2 separate regions of the Homo sapiens genome follow, and region 2 is linked to region 1. Evidence: promoter capture Hi-C in 16 types of primary human blood cells and fetal thymus (Javierre and others, 2016). All regions are on one chromosome and are shown on one strand. The core of a region is centred on a gene start or on the middle of the fragment in contact, and the rest is flanking DNA. Distances in the headings are between cores, read along the strand shown. Region 1 holds the start of DCLK2 (doublecortin like kinase 2). Region 2 overlaps LRBA (LPS responsive beige-like anchor protein).

Region 1 (3,394 bases), core at 314-2,813:
TGTGATCCAAGATGAAGCCAAGGTTGAGACCTGCTGTCTAGGATCATCCCTCTTCACCTCAAGTAACTTCTGCTGCAAGGCAAACTAGGAAAGCCAACCTAGAGCATTTCACAACCACAGCTTCTGACAGCAGTCACAACAGGACCCCGAATACTGGAACATGACAGGAGCCTGCACCAGGGTCCACACCGAGGGTCCAACAGAGCTTATTAGTAGGGGATTACCCAGCTCCCCATGGGAGAACCATTTTCTCAAACAGTTTGCACTTCAATACAAATAAGTTCAACAATCTTAGGAGATGCCACCAGTGCCTAAATTGGCCTGACCATCAGGAAATTTTTTCCTTCTTTAAGAGACAAACCTCTTGGGAAGGAAAGTCAGTGTGTATGTGGGCACCCCACCGGCCCCCACCCCCAGCCAATCTCTAGAGAAGCAGACAGAAGCATCAATTCCCGTGCGGCTTGGAAAGCACCCCGCGGGCTCCCCGCTGCGCCGGCTCACGCCCACTGCACCTGCCGGCGCTCCGCCGCACCTGCCGTGCGGCGCCCTCCCCTCCTACCTTCCAGCAGCTCGTCCAGGCTGGTGACCTTCCGGCTGCCGTCGATGGTGTAGATAGTGCGGACACCCTGGGGCAGGTTCACGTTGTCCGACAGGGAGCGGGTGAGCTCTATGAGGAGCGCATCGAAGGACCGGAAGCGGTCGCTGGAGATGGCAAACACCAGGCCCTTGAAGTAGCGGTCCCCGTTCCGGTAGAAGCGCGCCTTCTTGGCCTTCTTCTCCGAGCTGAGGGCCTGCAGGGTCCGCGTGCGGTAGAAGCTGCAGTGGGCACTGTGCGCCGGACTGGGGATGAGCCCGTTCCCCTTGGGGCCCGAGCTGCTGCTGCCCCCGGAGGAGCTGGGGGCCCCTCTCCGCGACCCCGGCCGCGGCCTTTTGTCCCGTTCCTCAAAGTGCTCCAGCTCGATACTCCTGGTGCTGGCCATCGCGGCTGCTCCGAGGGCGTCCGCAAAAAGACGTTCCGGGCCGACTAAGGGTGCGAGCGCCGGTGCAGGGACGTCTGACTGCGAGGGCCCTTAACGCGCCGGGACACCTGGCTCTGGCATCCCGCCCTCTCCGCGCAGGTGGGGCCGAGGAGCCGCGGAGGAGCCGACCCGCCCGCGCCCTCAGCTAAAAGTGTCCGCAGCGCCGAGCTGCCCAGGTCATTGTCCAGTGCGACTTGCTCCGTGCCTCCCGCCTGCCGGGGAGCCCCACGCCCCCGCAAGCGCCTCCTCCACCCGGCCACGCCTCACAAGTCCCGCTCGGGAGCCGACCGGGAGAGGCAAAGTTGGGCCGCCCGAGGCTCGCGCTGGGCCCGCGGGCGCCCACAAAGCTCGGGCGTCTGCCGAGCGCTCCCGGGAGCGCCGAGGGGAGGAAGGAAGGAAGGGTGGGGCGGGGCGCGGAGCGTGGGAGAGGCCCCCGGGGGAGTCGCGCGGGCCCAGGCCCGGGGTGCAGCGCCGCCGCCTCGGCCGCGCCCGGATCCCGCCCGCCGGGCAGCGCGCGCCGTTCGGGGCTGAGAGGGCCGTGTCTGGCCCCTTCCTTCCCTGGAGCGCGGCCCTAGCGGGAAATAATGCAGCCCGCCTCCCACGCAGCGGTCAGGCCCGGCCCACTGGCAAGCATCCGCGCTCTGGCCTCCCTCCGCCGCCGACAGGCTGTCAGCGCTGGAGGAGGCTTCCCGGCCCCGGGGATGCCAAACCGCGGAGAAGGGGAGGAGGGGGCGGAGGAGGGGGCGGAGGAGGGGGCCGAGCGCCGGCGCGGGAGGAGCAGCTCCTGCGGGTCCCGGGCAGCCCCGCCCGCCTGACGGCTCCTGCCCGGCGCCGCGCGTTAATGGGCGCAGCCGCGACGCGCGCTCCTCCGCCTGGGAAACGTAACCGCGCAGGCCAAAAACTACAAAGGAAGGAGATTCAAGGGCAGGGAGCACATCCCCAGCCAGCATCCCAGTGAGGACCCCAGGCCAAACTACCGCAGAAATCCGAAGCCCAGCATTGACTTGGGGCACACCATTCATTTTTTTTAAAAAAGATTTGTTGCTTTATTAGAAAATCCTTTGAGAAAACAGCCTCCACTGTTTCCATTGCAGATTCGCTAATATGGTACGTTCAGTAACTTTGAATGAATGATGAGAAGTTATTGGGTGGTAGAGGGGGTTATGTAATCAACGAATATTTATCGAGAGCGTACCATGTGTCAGGCATTGTTTCTGTCACTGGGATGCCCTAACAAAGGAAAGAGAGACTCTGCACCCACTCCCCCCGCCCCGCATATTTAATGTTGTCAATTAAAGCTTCTTACCTAAGAGGCCTATCATTTGTGAGCACCCATCATAGTGGAAATCTTAATGCCGTAGTGTCTATTCAACAATAAAAACATCTTTTCCAAGACTTAAGAGAAATACTAGTTACTTGCATTTTGTTATTAGGAAAAATAAAGCTCAAATATGTTTGATCCCAATTTGGCACGTGAAACCTTAGAACATTCAACACCTGGTTTTCTGAGCAGCCCTAGACAGCAATCCAAACTGACCTTTCAGGAAGAAAGGCATAGTTGCTTTTTTTCGGGTTGAACTGAGTCCTGGAAGAGCATGAATAAAAGAAGGTAGAAGCACATGCAACGGTCTAGCATCTGTGAAGTTGGTGCGCCCCACCAAACACACGCACACACACGCATACACACCCTTCATGGCAGCTCCAGAAAGGTCTCCTGCTCGGTGCACAATACTACTCCTAAGGCAGTTCTGGGCATACACCTGGGCATACCTAACTTCCTGCGGGGTTGGGGCATGCTAGGAAGTCAGAGCTGATCTGAGGCTTCAATGTAGTTTTTCTAGAGGAAAATCCTGCAGCATCATTAGGTCCACCACCTTAAAAGGCCTCAACCTAGATCAGTTAAATCAGAATTTCTGGAGACGGGCTTCTCCAACAGTATTTTTTTAAAAGTACCCCTAAGGTATATCCAGAGTTTCCAACCACAGGCTGTAACACCAGGAATCAAATAAATCAGTGCTTCTTCTCAAACTTTAATATATTTACATGTCATAGGGGAATCTCGTTAAAATGCAGATTGCTATTCTGTAGCTCTGGGGTGGAGTTTGAGATTCTGCATTTCTGATGAGCCCCTGGGTAATGCCAATGCTGCTGGTCTTGGTACAAGACTTTGAGAAACAAGAAACTAAATTGCAAATTTATTGAGATAAGTTTCCATCTAAGTACCAGTAACTCCACAGAGCCCATCAACTTGCCTTAAGATGGCCATGTTCATTTGTATCACTGTTAGTATTTCTTAGGGGGAAAAAGACTTTGTAAACTATTGCTGTAGAAACAAATTATCCTAAACTTAATGATTTACAACAATAAACATGCAT
Region 2 (3,394 bases), core at 528-3,027, 790 kb before region 1:
GAAAGGCTCATGCTTCAGACAAATTTAATCACAATGACCACATATAATGTGCTGTTTGAGGTAGGAATGTACTTAGGATTTACTCCTCTAAATTTCTTATTATAAAAATGCCTCTTAACATTGTGTAGGTAAATAAGATCATTTATTTTTATTTTATTTTTTGAGACAGAGTCTCACTCTGTCACCCAGGCTGGAGTGCAGTGGTACAGTCTTGGCTCACTGCAACCTCCACCTCCCGGGTTCAAGTGATTCTCCTGTCTCAGCCTCCCCAGTAGCTGGGATTACAGGTGCACACCACCTAACCCGGCTAATTTTTGTATTTTTAGTAGTGACGGGTTTTGCTGTGTTGGCTAGGCTGGTCTCGAACTCCTGACCTCAGGCGATCTACCCACTTCAGCCTCCCAAAGTGCTGGGATTACAGGCATGAGCCACCATGCTGACCAGACCATTTAAGTTTGTAATGTACAGCTTTGAAATGATATAAGGAGATGTGGCTGCATTTTTAGAAATCTATAATTAATCTGTGAATTTCTAAACAGTATCGTTATTTCTGTTTAAATGTTCCCTCCATTTTATTAACTATTTGATGTCTCATTTTATAATTAAGAAAACATAGAGTAATAATGCTGTAGTTATTTTAGAAGTATATTATTTAGCATGACAATATTGGACTAAAAATATACTATATTTTGATTAGTGTTGTACTTAAAGTTAATTAATAGTGATGCACTTAAAGTTCATTAATAGTGATGCTAATCCAGTGATTTGCTAATGTAATCCATTGTTTTACTTCTGTAGATTCTTATAGAACAGATTGGTACTCAGGTGATACATAAACAGCATCCAGATCCTGATTCTTCAGTGAAGATACAAAACCCTCGTATGTATTTTATATACTTTAACAAAAACTACCTTTTGCTACTTAAAAAGAAAGTCACTGTGAACAACCTAAAATTGATGTTGTTGAAACAGATTGTTAGATGAATGTTTCATTAAGGGTGATGATATTATACTAGTTTTGTTTGGGTTTTATATTGAGTATTCCTTCGAATCAACCTTAAGTTATGTGGAAATTCTTATATAAAGGTTTTGAAGAATTGTTTGCTTAAGGTCTTGATGTAATATATGTTCAGACTTTCAGCAAAATTTTGATTGTGCTATTTAGTGATGTCAGGCAGAATTACAAGAACCATTGGGGTAGTTTTATCTTAAATTACTGTGAATATAAAAATACCAAATTTGGAATAGAACAATATGTCTTCTTTATTGTTTATGAAGATAGTCTTGTTAAACAGTCTTTTCTTTTGATATTTAGAATTCTTAAGCACTTGTATAAAGTATACCTTTTTCATCTTGCTTTTTAAGATCATGTTATTAAAATTATTAGTTTGTAGAGTTTTAAAATTTAATTACATTTTATGTGGTTAGGTGTATTTGTGTGTTTGGTACTCCAGTGCTAATTTTCAAAGCACGTGGCTTTGAGGTTTAATTTTCCTCAGCTTTCAGAGAAACGTGATGTCATTATTTTGCCTATGTTGCCCAGGCTGGTCTAAAACTCCTGGGCTCAAGCAATCTTCCCACCTCAACCTCCCAAAGTGCTGGTATTACAGGCATGAGCCTACTGCACCTGGTCTAAGTGCATATTTTTAAAAGAATTTTTTTTTTTGTTTTAATTTAAGCTAAGAAGCTAAGTTCTGGAGATTATTTATTTATTTAGAGACCGAGTCTTGTGCTCTGTTGCCCAGACTAGAGTAGAGTGCCAGGATCTCAGCCACTGTAACCTCTGCCTCCTGGTTCAAGTGATTCTCCTGCCTCAGCCTCCCTGGTAGCTGGGATTACAGGTGCCTGCTACCAGGCCTGGCTAATTTTTGTATTTTTTGTGGAGATGGGATTTCGCCATGTTGGCCAGGGTGGTCTTGAACTCTTGACCTCAAATTATCCAACTGCCTCAGCCTCCCAAAGTTCTGGGATTACAGGCATGAGCCGCTGTGCCTGGCCTAATTTAAGCTAAATTCTGGAGATTTAAATAGCTTTATGCTAAGACCATTACAATAGTAGTTTAGTTTGCATTTTCTGGGGAGATGGGATGTTGAATAGGTTTTAATTTCCTTTGGGTTTTTTGTGTCTAATTTTACTTTTAAGATTATGAAAGAAAATCTTCACACCTTTAAAAATTCTCTATGGTAGGCCGGCCGTGGTGGCTCATGCCTGTAATCCCAGCACTTTGGGACGCCAAGGCAGGTGGATCACGAGGTCAGGAGTTCAAGACCACCCTGACCAAGACGGAGAAACGCTGTCTCTACTAAAAATACAAAAATTAGCTAGGCGTGGTGGCAGGTGCCTATAATCCCAGCTATGAAAGACTGTGTGTGCATACCATAAATTATGATGAGGAATCTAAGAATTTATTATATTTTTCTGAGATTTTGATTATAGTATTTTTTATTTTATTTCATTATTTTTTTTTGAGACAGAGTCTTGCTGTGTCGCTTAGGCTGGGGTGCAGTGGCACGATCTTGGCTCACTGCAGCCTCTGCCTCCTGGGTTCAAGCGATTCACCTGTCTCACCCTCCTGAGTAGCTGGGATTACAGGCACACGCCACCACACCTGGCTAATTTTTATATTTTTAGTAGAGATGGGGTTTTGCCATGTTGGCCAGGCCGCTCTCGAACTCCTGACCTCAAGTGATCCACCCACCTCAGCTTCCCAAAATGTTGGAATTACAGGCGTGAGCCACCTCGCCCGGCCTGCTTGTTTTTAAGATCAACTTTACTATTTGGTATATCTCAGAGAGAGTAAGCAGTTTCACTGACATTTAATTCATTTATAATTTAACTTGTTTTATTTTAACCTTTTAAAGTTCAGCTTTATTTTTGCACATTTGAATCATGAAAGAAATTTCCTTTCATATTTATAAATGCTTTCTAATGAATGTATTGTCATTTCTTTCCAGAGGTGATTTTTTTTAATAACAGAAGAGGATGTTTTTGGTAGACATTTGTGTTAGGGAAACTAAAGAAATTGCAATAGATGGATGACCTTCTATCATGAGTTTTTTGTTGAGTTTGGTTTTTACTTATTTATAAACTGTCTTACAGAGATACTAAAAGTAATTGCGACCCTACTTCGAAATTCTCCCCAGTGCCCAGAGAGCATGGAGGTTCGCAGAGCCTTTCTTTCTGACATGATTAAACTTTTTAATAACAGTAGAGAAAACAGGAGGTAAGCTGAATCAGAAAGCATTTATTTGCAGTATTCAAATGTACTTTTGTATAAGCCCATTTTATCTAAGAAAAATTGCTTTAAAAATACTGTGAAATGATTTTTCTATTTTTTTTATTAAGAGTATGTAAATAATGTACCACATAGTTAAGTTAGAATTTTTAGTACCAC

Evidence for each region. The method cuts DNA at HindIII sites, captures the fragments that hold promoters and counts their contacts. A CHiCAGO score of 5 or more calls a contact.
Region 2: a fragment that was not itself captured here is called in contact with the fragment with the promoter of DCLK2 in region 1 in 1 of 17 cell types (M0 macrophages); the score reaches 5.2 in M0 macrophages.

What each region holds. Positions count from the first base shown.
Region 1 is chr4:150,076,614-150,080,007 of GRCh38, reverse strand. DCLK2 (doublecortin like kinase 2) reads right to left here and starts at 1,563. Exons shown (of 16, transcript NM_001040260.4): 1 at 560-1,563. The coding sequence starts at 980. The HindIII fragment of the contact is 6,630 bases long and covers 1-2,319 here.
Region 2 is chr4:150,868,011-150,871,404 of GRCh38, reverse strand. It overlaps LRBA (LPS responsive beige-like anchor protein), which reads left to right. Exons shown (of 57, transcript NM_001364905.1): 19 at 1-60; 20 at 799-880; 21 at 3,100-3,223. Among named protein-coding and RNA genes, the nearest start is that of LRBA, 150 kb to the left of the region's middle. The HindIII fragment of the contact is 4,699 bases long and covers 1-3,394 here.